Regions from separate parts of the Homo sapiens genome. Here region 1 is linked to region 2. Evidence: promoter capture Hi-C in 16 types of primary human blood cells and fetal thymus (Javierre and others, 2016). All regions are on one chromosome and are shown on one strand. Each heading gives the region's core, a stretch centred on a gene start or on the middle of the fragment in contact. The rest is flanking DNA. Distances are from core to core; before and after follow the strand shown.

What was found. The method cuts DNA at HindIII sites, captures the fragments that hold promoters and counts their contacts. A CHiCAGO score of 5 or more calls a contact.
Region 1: a contact is called between a fragment that was not itself captured here and the fragment with the promoter of VAC14 in region 2, in 1 of 17 cell types (erythroblasts). The highest score is 5.2, in erythroblasts.

What each region holds. Positions count from the first base shown.
Region 1 is chr16:71,409,663-71,417,093 of GRCh38, forward strand. LINC02136 (long intergenic non-protein coding RNA 2136) reads right to left here. Exons shown (of 3, transcript NR_146574.1): 2 at 5,203-5,333; 3 at 779-872. Among named protein-coding and RNA genes, the nearest start is that of LINC02136, 13 kb to the right of the region's middle. RefSeq lists enhancers at 2,360-2,861, 2,935-3,024. The HindIII fragment of the contact is 4,748 bases long and covers 3,262-7,431 here.
Region 2 is chr16:70,798,596-70,805,982 of GRCh38, forward strand. It overlaps VAC14 (VAC14 component of PIKFYVE complex), which reads right to left and starts at 2,563. Exons shown (of 19, transcript NM_018052.5): 1 at 2,202-2,563. The coding sequence starts at 2,305. It overlaps HYDIN (HYDIN axonemal central pair apparatus protein), which reads right to left. Exons shown (of 86, transcript NM_001270974.2): 86 at 3,489-7,387. RefSeq lists enhancers at 2,249-2,871, 2,539-2,598 and a silencer at 2,269-2,458. The HindIII fragment of the contact is 5,317 bases long and covers 1-3,413 here.

The DNA.
Region 1 (7,431 bases), core at 4,386-6,885, 610 kb after region 2:
TCACCTCCTGGGTTCAAGCGATTCTCCTGCTTCAGCCTCCCGAGTAGCTGGGACTACAGGTCTCCATCTCCTGACCTCGTGATCCACCCGCCTTGGCCTCCCAAAGTGCTGGGATTACAGGTGTGAGCCATTGTGCCCAGCTGAGGTCAGGTACTCTTTTTAGCGAGTATTCCCATTTTAAAAAATCTTTTTAAATAAAAAGAACCTGGCTCCAAAAAAACCATTTGCATGTATGATACCTCATTGAAACCTCAGAGCCATCCAACCGGGTCAGGTCTACCCGAATTGCCATGGACAGAGAACAAGACTGGGGCACCGAGAGGTTTAGATGACTTTTCTGTGGTGACACAGCCAGTGAGTGGCAGAGACACAGGAATGCCACCCCACCCCTGCTCTGGCCACCACCGGCACTCCAGGTTCTGACACCCCATGCCGTGGAATCGCACGGTGGGATCCCAGCTGACCCAGGGTGCTCCGTCTCCACCCTGGCTTTCCATCTGGCCCACACAGGTGAAGTGCAAAGGCTGATCTCAGAGAAACCATCAGAGGTACTATCACACTGCCTCATCAGTGACAGTCACTCTCCTGGCCAGGTGCATGGGCGTGGATGTGGATCACATCAGGTGTGGAACAGAGGCAGCGCACTCCTCGAGCCCCAGGTGTTTGTGGGAAGCCAACCATACCCTGAATCTCTCCTAGGTACAGGTAGGCCCAGGTGCAGCTCTGACAGGCTCGCCACTCCCGGGCAGGAAACCTCCCAGCCTCAGTCAGCTCCTCTTAATCAGCCCCTCTTCATCTCCAACCAGGATCACCAGTCTGCCAGGCCCCTTCCTGTGCTCCTCAGGAGGCCAGCAGTCTGCCAATATCTGGAACTTAATGAAATGAGAGTAAAAGTGAATCCCTGAGGTTGCCTTATTTTTCCTCCATTGAACCTCTTTCCAGTTCCCTCAGTCTCTCTCTGCCTTTGTTTTATAGTAAGAGGCTACATTTGGACCAGGTGAGCTACTGGTCACGCAGGAGTCGATCTTGCTGTCCTCCTCTGGCTGGACACTATGGCCTGGAACTGACTTCCAGCTCAGGAGTTTGAGCCCAGGAAGCTTATCCTCTGTTTTCACATGCTAGTAGTCACCCTTTTGGTCTGATTGCTGTTGAAAACCACGCAATACAACACCTGCAACTCTGTCGGAAGCCTGTGACAATCAAACTGCATTCACCCAGACTGTGTTCAGAGGCGCATATGTCTTAGAGTTTGCAAATGCATATATTCAAGTCTAAAATCTGTGTTTCAGAAAGCAACAGCCAACCAGATTTAGCAAGTCCCACCCATTTGCCGTAGGTACACCAGACCAATTTTTTAAATGAGTAAAACATTTTTTTTTTTTTTGAGACTGAGTCTCACTCCATCGCCCAGGCTGGAATGCAGTGGCACGATCTCAGCTCACTGCAACCTCTGCCTCCTGGGTTCAAGCGATTCTCGTACCTCAGCCTCCCAAGTAGCTAGAATTACAGCATGTGCCGCCATGCCCAGCTAATTTTTGTAGTTTTAGTAGAGATGGGGTTTCACTATGTTGGCTAGGCTGGTTTCAAACTCCTGACCTCGGCCTCCCAAAGTGCTGGGATTACAGGCATGAGCCACCATGTCCAGCCAAAACATTATTTTAAAGCTAAGCTCCCCACCCTCTTGCTATTCCTTTGGTTCCCCTCTCTCCCCGGGACAAACCCCATTCAACTCTAACATGCATCCCATCTCTGGATATTTCTCACTGTTACAAGGCAGTCATGTAGCCAGGACCACCGTGTCCTGATGTCTAGTGTGTTTGACAACTAACAGAAAAGGGATTTGGCGTTTTTATTTTATTTTGAGACTGAATCTCACTCTATCACCCAGGCGCAATCTTGGCTCACTGCAACCTCCACCTCCCAGAGGCTCAAGTGATTCTCCTGCCTCAGCCTCCCAAGTAGCTGGGATTCTAGGCATGCACCACCACATCCAGCTAATTTTTTGTATTTTTAGTAGAGAAGGAGTTTCACTGTGTTGGCCAGGCTGATCTCGAACTCCTGACCTCAAGTGATCCTCCCACCTCGGCCTCCCAAAGTGCTGGGATTACAGGCATGAACCATGGCGCCCGGCTGGAAAAGAGATCATCCTGTCCACAGCTGGGCCCTATTCGGGATCATCTCTTAGGAGGGCCCTAGCTCCTTTCCTGGACTGTATCTTGTCCCCATGATTGAACAAGGGTGGCTTTCAGGAAGAGGATGGGGAAAGTCCAGCCCAGAACCAGGCCCTACAGCAGAAGGCAAAAAAAAAAAAAAAAAAAAAAAAAAAAAGGTGATTCCCTTGACTCTGGCCCCCTAAGGGCAATGTGAGCCCCCCAAAACCATGAGTCCAACTCCCTGTTGTCTGGGGAGCAGCACCACAGCCCAGGATGGCTTGGGGGATGCATTGGATGAGGGAGAAGCAGGCCCACAAAGGGGAGATGAATGTGTCAAGATCACACAGCCAGGCAGGGCACAGTAGGGACTAGACCTGTGCTCAAGGTACTGGGCCATTTTGCATTTCTGAATGGGCAGCAGCATCAGAACCTTCATACTCCTCATACCACTGACGGCAGGCTCTGTGCATGGGGATATCCTTGACCCTGCACCTGGCACAGAGGGAAGCCAGCCAGCTGCGGACAGTCACGCCCTGGGGCTCTGAGCTGCTCCACTGCACCTGGGGCATCCTGCACCGGGGTGGACAGTTCCCAGTCAAGACGACGAAGACTAGGAGACCCGACCTGGGAACTCTACGTGGCGCCAGAGTGCCCCCTGCTGGCTGACCGCCAAGCAACCCAAACCTCACGTCTGCATCTAAGACTTCTCTTGACTCCCGCCCAGGAGAGCTGAGGGTTGGGTTCAGCGCCCACCTTCTCCTAGGAAGTTTCTCCTGGACCTGCTCTATCCAACCTCTATCTCAGCTGCCGACTACAGGGCCCCCTGCTGTTTCCAGTTCCTGGCCCACCCAGAGTTTTTCCTACTCATGTGGGCTACCCCCAGGACACTGGGAGCGAGGCCCTTGTTTAAGGAATCGTCTTCAGCATCACGGCAGAGGAGGAGCCCACCCATGTCAGGGTGAGTGCTGGGGTCTCAGGGAAGCCCGTCCACCATGGGCAGCGACATTATTTTCCCAATTGTTCTGCGATTCCCATCTCTCTTGGGAACAGGGCTTGCGCTCTGACTGTGAGTGAACAAGATGACCACAAGGGGGCAGCAGAGACAAAAAGCTTCGCCTGAAAACCATTTGCTAAAGTTCTCCACCCACGAGGTAAATCAGTTCCCAGTCCTGGCTGCACACTGGATTCACCTGGTGAGCTTTAAACACTACCGATGCCAAGTTCCCACCCCTACAAATGCTGAGTTAATGGCCCTGGGGTGCCATCCTAACATCTTTTTACAATCTCCCAAGGGAAACTTTAATTTAAAATGCAGAAGGCAGTGGAGGAGGGAAAGAGCGACCTTTCAGGCCATTCTTCTATCGGGCTAGGGCTGAGGATCACTGGGTTAGACCCTTGTTAATGCAAAGCGTGGCTCACGGACCACCAGCATCAAGGTCACCTGGGAGCTTGTTAGAAATAAGGACCTGCCCCAAACCTACTGAGTCAGAATCTGCAATTTAACAGATTCTCCAGAGAATTCATCTGCATATTAAAAGTCTAAGAAACTTACGGTCCTCTTTACCAAAAAGGCACTAGGGAGGTCCTGGTCCAATGCCATATGTACAGTCTGTGGATGCACAGATTAAAGCCCCGAGGCAGGAGTCCCTTTGCCCAAGGTCATTGGCCATGTATTCAGTGGGATGGCACAAACCTGAAGGCCCTGACTCCAGGACCAGTGCACCTTCTCCCACAGCACCCTGCTCCTCCAACCCAGAGGTGGGCCTGGGCACAAGAGGGCAGGAAATGGTGGCAGGAGTTTGGTGGGGTCTTTGAATTTCCCTGTTAGCACGTGTCCTGTGGGGATCCCAGGGATAGCTAAGATACCATCCCTGGCTCAAGGAACTTCTATCCTCATATCTAACTCTGGACAGACGCACTTGGTATCAGTCAAACACAACCTCTTACCTTGAGTCACGTACTAGAACCATCTCTAAATCTAGCAAAACAGAGGAGGGAGAAAAAGACTAGTTTGGATACGTAGCCTGGAAAGGTTTCCTGCAGTCCAGGCAGTGCAGGAGGAGGGTGGGTTAGGTTTCAGGGGCCAGTGGAGGAGGGGGCTGCATTTCAGACCAAAAGACCAAGATGAATGAAGGGTATAGATATACAGGAAAGGATCCACATGACCAGGGCATAGGTAAGGGCTGGGAAGTTGTGGGAGATAAAGCTGGGATGGGACAGGGGCTCGCGGCACAGACCAGACCCTAAAAGCAGGCAGAGCACTTGGCCAGGTAGAACCAATTCAGACCCTGGGCTGGAGGCCACAGAGAGCCATGGAAAGTGTTTGAGCCAGGAGAGGAGTCTGGGCCTTGGAAAGACCTTCCAGCATCAGTCCTGTCAGGTTTTGGAGATGATGCAATGAAGAGAGAGGCTACAGGAACCCTCATCCTGAGAGCTCACTGAGTACACGGATCAAGGCTCATTCATCTCAAGGTCACCAGCATTTGCCAGAGTATTAGCCCCTGGAAGGTGACCTGCAAACAACCATCTCTAAGGGAGACCAGCCTTTAACCCAAGGATGATTTCATTCTTAAGGTCCAGGCTGGGCACGGTGGCTCACGCCTGGAATCCCAACAGTTTGGGAGGCCGAGGCAGGCGGATCACTTGAGACCAGGGGTTTGAGACCAGCCTGGGCAACCTAGTGAAACCCTATCTCCACACACACAAATATATATATATATATATATATATATATATCCGAGTGTGGTGGCACATGCCTGTACTCACAGATACTTGGGGGGCTGAGGTAGAAAGATTGCTTGAGCCTGGAAGGCGGAGGTTGCAGTAAGTCAGGATCGTGCCACTGCACTTTGGGCTGTGTGACAGAGCAAGACCTCATCTCAAAAAAAGTAAAATAATTAATAAATAAATAAAACTTAAGGTCCAGAACAGGAAACGTAGGTCATACTCTTGGGACCTTGAGCTTGTTACACTGTGGGGTGGGGATGACCATAGAAATTCCCTTGTGAGATTACAGTGAGACTCACCTGTGATAATGCGTGTTACCTACCTGGCATCTAGGTGAGGCTCAATGTCATGGCAACTCCATTCTACCTGCTTTTCCCAGGGCTTCTGTGACTTTGCACCATCGTAGTAGTCTCTGGAGCCCCTTGAGATTTCCCTTCAATCTCTTCTTGCCTCCTAATTAACAGCAGCATTTATTGAATGCTTTGACCATATTAAAACACTTTGCATATGTGAACTCGTTTGGTCCTACAGTCATGCCTTGATTCATTCTCTAAATTTTTATTTATTTATTTATTTTTTGAGACAGAGTTTTGCTCTTGTTACCCAGGCTGGAGTGCAGTGGCATGATCTTGGCTCACTGCAACCTCCCCACCTTCTGGTTTCAAGCGATTCTCCTGCCTCAGCCTCCCAAGGATTACAGGCGCCCGCCACCATGCCTGGCTAATTTTTGTATTTTTAGTAGAGATGGGGTTTCACCACATTGGCCAGGCTGGTCTCAAACTCCTGACCTCATGATCCACCCGCCTTGGCCTCCCAAAATGCTGGGATTATAGGTGTGAGCCACCGCACCCGGCCCCATTCCCCAATTGAAAGATGAGAAAACTCAAGGGCAGAGCTGGCACATGAGCATAACAGGGACTTGAATCTGATTACTGGCTCAAGCACCCCTCTCCTAACTACTCTTTCTCATGGCCTCCAATGTGTGACTGACCAAGACTCTCCCCTGGCCACTCCATGACCCTCAGGCCACGATCTCCCTCCATAACTCCTTCTCTGACAGTTGAGGGGGCAAATCTCAAGTCTTTGTTCTGAGCCTTGGTCTTCTCCTTTGACCAACATAACCACATGTCCAGAGACCAGTGGGCTAGATCCACATGGACATCTGTCTTCACCTGAAACCCAACCAGCCCCAACTCTAGTCTGAGCCTTGGGCAGCTTGCCCTTGGTCCCTCCACTACAGTACTGAGTTCATTCTCTCCGGAAGTCTAGTTCATCAAGGCCCTGCTGGTTTCCACCCAGGACTGTGGGATCCTGGAGGACAGGCATCTGTCCTCAGGTGCCTCTCACAGCCCCAAGCACAGTAAGTGCTGGACTTACCTCTTCTCTAGCCAGCATCCCTCCCAATTCACCTATTTCAGCTCACAGTGCTACCCTCCATCCCTTGACCCATCCCTCTCCAACAGCTGCCTCATCCCCCAATGGTCCTCTCTGCTCAGAACCACTTTCACCTGCCTCTTAGATTGTTCACTCCCTGACATTCCACCCCACCAACTGCTCCTCCCTGCCCTCCAGCAGGCTCAGGTGAAATCCAACCCCACCCGTTTTTATTTATTTTTTGAGACAGGGTCTCCCTCTGTCATCCAGGCTGGAGTGCAGTGGCACGATCATGGCTCACTACAGCCTCAACCTCCCTGGGTCAAGTGATCCTCCCACCTCACCCCCCCACAAGTAGCTGGAACTAGAGACACGCACTACCACACCTGGCTAGTTTTTTAATTTTTTGTAGAGATGCGGTCTTATCATGTTGCCCAGGCTGGTCTCAAACTCCTGGGCTCAAGTGATCCTCCTGGTTCAGCTTCCAAAGTGCTTGGATTATAGGCATGAGCCACCGCACCCAGCCTACCCCTTGAAATTTAACCATACTCTGTCCCCATTCAAGTTAGTTTCTGTGACTTTCCCAGTGAACTGGAAACTCCTTGGGGGAAGGAACTGTGTCTACTTATTTTTGTCCCCACAACACTGTCCCAGTAACTGGCATATGTTTGAGGACCATTTTAATGTGTGTGTGAATTGTCCAAGTCTTTTCTCTTTTTTCTGTGGAGTATTTCATCCTCTGTCCCTCAATTTTTAAGAGTTCTGTATATATAAGGGAGATTAGCCCTTTGTCTGTGGTATGTGTTACAAATATTTTCTCTCAATTTTTCAGTTACTTTGGTTTCTGTGGTTTGGGTTTTTTGTTTTGTCTGGTTTGGTTTGGTTTGGTTTGCCATGTCCAATTTGCCAGAATTTTATTTCATTGCTTCTGGATTCTGAGTGATGCTTTCAAATCCTTTCCTTACACTGAGGTTAAGAGGAATTCACCCACGGACTTTTTCCCCCTAGTACTTACATGTTTTCATTTTTTACACTTAAATTCATGATCCATTTGAGTTTATTCTTATATATGCTGTGAACAATAGATCTAATTTTATCTTTTTTTAAAAAAAAAAAGACTACCCCATTATCCCAGTACCATTTATTAAAAAGTCTGGGCCAAGCACAGTGGCTCATG
Region 2 (7,387 bases), core at 1,313-3,812:
AAGCATGACTGGAGAAGGTTGGAAACAGATGAGAGGGTCTTTGAGGCCAGTGCTTCTCAAACTTTAATGTGCACACAAATCACCCAGGGATCTTGTTAAAATGCAGATTCTGATTCCATAGGTCTGGAGCAAAGCTGCAGAGCCTCTAACAAGCTCCCAGGTGATCCTGATGCTGCTGTCTGTAGGCCACGCTTTTGGGCAGCAAGGTCCTGAGCCTGCAATGTTATTTCCCCACCGAAAATGTACGGTCATTCATTTATTCGGACACCAGCTGTCAAGTGCTGCCAGGCTAAGTGCTAAGGATAAATAAAACAGATACATAAACAGAACTCTCTGCTCTTAAGGAGTTCACAGTCAAGGCACTGCTGAGTTTCTCTAAATTCCACAAATCAAGGGCAATGTCCAATACAAAATGAACTCGATCAAAGACAAAACCCTTACAGAACTGTGTGCAGAGTGAGAACAGATACACAGGTTGCGCTGGAAGCAACAATAATGTTGAGATGAATACCTCTCTCTTCAAGGACTCAACAGACGACTCAAGCTACAATAAAACCGGATATTCCTGAGAAGCAGAGTGGGTGAGGGACAAAACTAGGTGTCAAGGCAACTTCAAAGCCAACAAAACCCCATGGACACGGAACCATGCCTATATATCATTTCTGGGTCCCTCTATTCAGTATGGCAATGTGCAATAAGACTTGCTAGCATTCGTGAGAGTCAGGCATAAACAAAAAGCTATATAAAAGGAGCAGTCAAGAAAGTGGTGTCTGATGAGAGAAGCAGCTAGATGGTTGTGGACATACTGAGTATGAGAGCTGAATGGAGGCAGGGTGGGGGATTTCTTATCAAGGTCCGAACCCTTTAGTTTAGGAGGAAACTAAAATCCAAAGCAACATTTGATTTGGATTGCAAGCAGCAGTTGTCAACCGGGGCAATTTTGCTCCTTCAGGGGACATTTAGCAATGTCTGAAGACATTTTTGATTGTTACAACGGATGGAGTGCTACTGGCATCCAGTGGGAAGAGGTCAGAGACGCTGTTAAAAATCCTGCAAGGCACAGGACAGCCCACTACAACCAAAAATCATCTGCCCCAAAATGTGAATGGTGCAGAGGCTGAGAAACCCTGAGTTAAGGAATTTGCCCCAGGTTAACGAATGAATGTCACACCACGGAATAGATTAGAGCAGTCCAATAGAGCATTCTGCAATGATGGAAACAGTCTATAATCTGTGCTGCCCTATATAGCAGCCAATAGCTACATGTGGCTATTGAACACTTGAAATACGGGTAGTGTGACTGAGAAACTAAAGTTTAATCTTTAATAATTTAAATTTATAATAGCTACGCACGGCCAACGGCTACTCTACTGGACAGAACAGAAATACAATTCACCTTTTCTGACTCGCAGACTGGTATTCTTCCAGTTTCACAGCCTGCTTCTTTCCAATTTTCTGAAATCACTCACTCACTTGACTTTAACACTAAAATGTGACTGGGAAAAAACCCACAAAAGTAAAATAATACTGCAGAAAAAAAAATAAATAAAACATCCCCAGTTAAACTTTCGCTGTTTTGTACATTGGGAAATAAAGTAAAATATCAGATCATTGTTACACATACATGTAACAAGACTGCAGAAGCAAGAAAGGTCAAATTATTTCTACTTCCACTTGCAGGGAAGGGTGTTATAACACAGATAAAACAAAAAACTCTCTGAGCCTTGAGATCACGAGTTTTCCGACCTGATTTCTCTACTTGGTCACTAACAATCTCCTTCACTTCTCAGAAGCTGGGTAAGAAACCAGGCTGGTCAGCATCACCTGCAAATTCTCCGGCTTCTGACTTCTCTCTCACCACAGAGACAACTCTCTGATTTGCTGGTTTGGGTGGCACCGCACCGAAGACTCACCATGTGCCATGCACTGTGCAAAGCACTACCCATACATGATGTCACTTCATTCTCACTGCAGCCCTTTGTGGCACCGGGAGGTTAAAAAGCTGGGACCAAATCACACAGCCAGTCAGGAGTAAAGCAGGGACTCCCAGATATGGCTCCCAATCTGCTCTTAAACACTGCGCTAAGGTAAGGGCCTAAAACCTGGGAAAGTAACCCTGGCTGGGAAGGCGTGAGAAGTCCCCCTGGGGAGCAGAGCAGTCAGGGGCTGCATAGCCAGGGAGGGGTCCTGGCGGCTCTTACTTCTCGATCTCCAGCGCTGCCACCTTCCGCTTTTCGTACAGCTTGTCATTGAGGGCGCGCACGATGTTAGGCGTGAGCGGCGCGAAATCCTTCTCGGGGTTCATGGTGGCAGCTGGGGGAACCTCGCGACTCCTTAGCCCGCGGCTGCCGGGGCCGCGCCGGGGCCAGGGGAGTCTGCGGCTCCGCTCTGCCCCCGGCGCCGGCGCATGGACCACGCCGCTCTAGGCTTGCCTGCCACGCTCCGCCGCCTCGCCCTGGAACCCGGGCCCGGACCCCGCTCCAGCACACCTGACCCTGGCCGCTTAACAACTCCCGCCCGGCACTAGCGGGACTCACGAGACAGCGGCCATGTTACTCGAGTCACATGACTCTACAGCACTTCCGCCTTCCGTCGCGAGGGCCCGCCCCTCTCCAGCCACGCCCCCACCGCAGGCCGCAGGTGGATTGGCCACGCCCTCGGAAGGCTCCACCCACACTGCACACACTATCGCGCTGCGCGCCAGGTAGCTGGAGTGTGGTTTGAGACGTGCTTTAATGGGTGTGTAGCTCACGCCCAACTGATGGCACGTGGTGGGCTTCTGTAGACGTTCGTAAGACCGAATGGGTTCTTGGAGTCTGATTCACTTAACATAATTTATTCAATAGTCACCGAATTCACTAGTTCATTCAGTAGTTGGTCACTTACCAATTTCCTAGATGCAGACGTTTCCCTAACTGCAGTAACACTGTCATCACTTTCACCATATTCTAGCCACTTGTATTATCTATTTAATGTTTTCCTCAAATCAACTCACTTTAAAAAATACCTTAAATCTCTTTTAGCTTTGCTTATGCCCTAAAACCATGAGTTTGAATAGGTATATTTTTTCTAAGACACATCAAAATAAATTCTCAATTAAAAATGGCACTACCTGTCTACCACCTAAGATCTCAGGTACCACCAGTGTCTGTCACTCCACCATTTGGGGGTGTGTTTAACATGCTCTGATGCCTAGGAGGGCTGGTTACAGACAGAGAGAAAGGCCCCAGATCTGCTGAGTGCGGGTCTCTAGATAGGTCCCCTGGAAAGCAGCCCCTTCAGCTGCTTCGGGAATCACATTACATGGTGAGACAGAAATCCCAACTATGTGGCAAAATATTTAAAAGCAATTTATGGCCGGAGTGTGGTAAACATGCAGTTAACAGGGAGGTGCATCAGCCTTTCCTATCATAAGCTTTCAGAGTGAACAGGGACTTAGGACAAGGGCTAGATTACAGTGGAGCTCAAAGAATAACAGTTTCAGAATGCATGGTGATACTTTTCTTTAATGAATGAAAAGTGCATATATAGGCCTTATAACAGTCTTGAAAATGGAGTATTTTCCTCAACAGAAACAGGGACGCAATGAGTAAAGGGCAAAAGTAGGCAGAATTCTAGGATGACCTCCAATATTCCCACCCCTTCGTGTTCATGCCCTGTATTATGCCCTCTTTCAGCGTGAACAAGACTTGTAAATATGATGGGCTATGCATCACTCACATGATTATATTATGTAATATCGCAGAAGAGATTTTGCAGATGTAATTAAGGTCCCTAATCAGCAGACATTGAATTAATAAAAAGAGAGATTAACTTGAGTCGGCCTGACCGAATCAAGTGAGTACTTAAAAGAGATTAGAAGAAATTTGAACTGGAAGAGAGACTCTCCTGTAAGGAGTTTAGTCATATGGCCACAAAGGAATGAATTTTGCCAACACATTGAGGGTCCTTGGAAGCAGATCTTTCCCTAGTTGAGCCTCCTGATGAGGATGCAGCTGGCCAGCACCTTGATTTCAGCCTTGTGGAACCCTGAGCTGAGAATCCAGTTCACACTGGGCTCTCAACCCATGGAAACTGTGAGATAATAAATTTGTGTTGTTTTGCTCTCCTAGTTTTGTGGTAATTTGTTATGCAGCCATAGAAAATGAATACAAAGGCTAATCCAAAACTCGGCAAGTCATGGATATATCATGTCTAGAAAAATCCATAAAAAATGTATTCTCCTATACAGGTGGGGTTTTCATAGTTGTTAAAACCTTTGCTGACACAATCCTATGAATGAAGGTAGGTGCGCTAACAAGTAGTAGTAGTGCTGCCAAGGACATCTCCAAATGTCTTGCAAAGTTTGGTTTTAGGATTTTGATGATGGTTGATGAAAAACACTGAAAAAATGTAAATCAATGGGAATGATTTGGTTCTATTTCTCCAATGTGTGTGCATTTCCACGGGACGCATATCTAATATATTTCATGTTTCTTTTGCTTTTTGGTTTGGCTTTTTCTTAGAGGTGAACTGAATTTCCCAAGGGTAATGATACAGTTTTTAATAATTCAAACAATAAGGAATTTTTTTTTTACCAGAAGTATTCTTTTCTCCTGAAATTATATTCTGGCTCAGGTTGCTAAGTAACCAGTTTTTTATTCAAGGCCCAGACCAATGCCTACCTTTAGGTCAGAAGTTCCTAGAAAGAAGTGGTTCTTTTCTCTAATATCTTGAAAAATGCCAACTAGGTAAGATTATTTATGCATAATTGAGCTAGCAGTGGTGGTAAAAATAAAGCCCAAAGGCTACCCTTGCCTTCCACCCTTGTTCCTCTTCTCTGACCTGTGACCATTCCTGTTGAAACTCTTCTAGACTAGGGGATAACTGATGTGCCTGACTGCATACTAGTCATTATTTCACAGTTACAATTCATCTGCATCTGTGTGATGCTTGGTTGTTATGCTAGAACTTGTAATAGTTCTGTAACAACTATTCATAATAGCTATTACAAGTATGTAAAAGTTATGACATAACTTGTAGCAAGAGGCTGCTGATGACATTGTAAGAAATTGTACCAAAATCTTGAACTGTGCAAAGCAGTTTCTCCAACAGCAATGTAATTGTAGCTGGAGTTTCAGGGCAACAGGGTTTAAGGTATTAGGTAGAGGTCTTGAAATGTAGCAGGCCCTCACCAATGTTACAGTATTGTCACCTCTGACTTGAGGCTCCTAAAGAAGTGGTTAGACTTAGCATGCCACACTCACTGGGGGCCCAGTGTGGAACGAGGCCAGGGAGCCCCATTCCCATGGTATTCTGTGCACAGTGCTCCTTGGAGTTCTGCCACACAGCTACCCTGACATTTTCTGAACATCCCCCAGTTAGAAGTCTCCTGGTCTGCTTTGCTGAGAATGGATTCTCCAATGTAACTTCCACAAGCATGTGTTGGAAGGGTTATTTTCATCAAGCCTGCTGTTAAGCTACTTTGCCATTCCAAATTTGCTAATATAAGACTATTTTGTTATTGTTTGAGGCTAAGGAAGCACGAGAAAAACCTAAAGGGAAGAAATGCACCCAATCTCAAACCAGCCTGGAAGAGGGTTCACACTGGGGCAGGATCTGAGCTTGGCTCTTGGTCCCAGGGAGAAGGAACTTCCTCCTCTCTCAGGGGCTAGGAGGATTTGGACCCTAGACTCAGTGGTGTTATAGGACCAACACGTTTGTGTGCCCACTGTGCAGTAACAGACCAATGCACAGAGACAGTGGGGATGCAGCAGAGAAAGTGATGATCAAAGGTCACTGAGTGATGAGATGGGAGGAGACCCTCAAATCCATCTCCCGGAAGAGTTCTGGACTGGGGTTTTTAAGGGGATCCTGGAGGGTGAAGGGCTGAAAAACCAGGTGACTGATTGGTTGGGTAAGACGGATGAAATCATCAGGATGTGGAAACCGCATTCTTTGGTGAATCAGCTTCTCGTGAGGTCCTTCAGATCAGCTGATGTCAGTTGTTTCACTGGTACACAGGACCAAGAATAAATATCTCAAACGGAAAACTTAACGTTTCCTAATGTTCAAGTTGTTATCTCCAGAGCATTGAGGGGAACTATGATCTTTAGCAGGGTCTACGTGATTCTGAAACAGCAGGCACCAAACAGCTATGAGGAAGCAGGTCTGAGCGCAGGCTGATCTAGTGATTAATGCTGAGTGTGCTGCAACCTGGGTTCGTTTTTGTTTCTCCCCCTCCCTTCTCCCTGATCACTTTTATAAAATGTATATGGACAGCTTCAGTGGCTTGGGGAAGCACTGGAACAGGTCTGAAGTTGGGGGAGTTGCCCCTAGCCACCCCAAGGCTGGCTATAAGCCATGCTGGGGCTGGTGGCATGTTAGACAAGATTTCAGACAGCTTCTTCCACCTTTTCTTTAGTCTTAGGGATCACTTGGTGTACCACATTGACCATTATTGAAAAAGTACACCCTTTTGAAGAGTAGGGTGAGGGACCAATTGCTTCCCTTCTCCTAACCTATACCTCTGGTGAATAGGTGGAAGGAGGCACATTTTGGGGAGGGTTAATTTCATCAACTAGGTCCTATGCAGATTTGGTAAGACTTCTCAGGACTGTAATGAAAGAGTTATGGCTGTGGGTTTGGCAAATGTCAAGTTTTGCCAGGTACCTTAAAGTAGCACTCTCAGCTGCAATGTGCATGCAAATCGCCTGGAGGTCCATGAAAATGCAGATTCTGATTCAACAAGTCTAGGGTGGGGCCTGAGGGCCTGCCTTTCTAACAAATTCCCAGGTGATGCTGATGCTGCAGGTCCATAGGCCACTCCGAATAACCAGGAGGCTCGAGGCTTTAGAGTCGTGGTTCTCACAGTCTGATTGGTCTCACCAACGAGCATCACCAAGAACTGGTTAGAAATGCAGATTCTCAAGCCCCACCCAAATCTCCTAGATCGGACTTCCTGAGGGTGGGGCTCAGCAATCTGTTTCAGTAAGCCCTCCAGGGGATGCTGATGTATACTAATATTTCAGAAGCACTGACTTTATACAGATGCTGTATATTTGCAAGTCATCACTCTTGCTCATTGATCTTAGCATCCTCTCAGATTATTGGTCAGAGCGATCTTTGCTCACTTAACCATTGTGAAAATCTGTCATCTGGTTGTCTTTAGACCTATCAGTAGTGTCTTTAGAGGTTATAGAAATAAATTGTCTATTGAGTATGGCAGTCCTCCTCATCTATGGCTTCAGTTACCTGTGGTCAACTGTGGAATGAAAATATTTAATGAAAAATTCCAGAAATAAAAAATTCATACTTTTTAAATGGCATGCTGTTCTGAATAACTTGAGGAAATCTCATGCCATCCCACTCCATCCTGCTCAGGATGTGAATCATCCCCTCGTCTAGC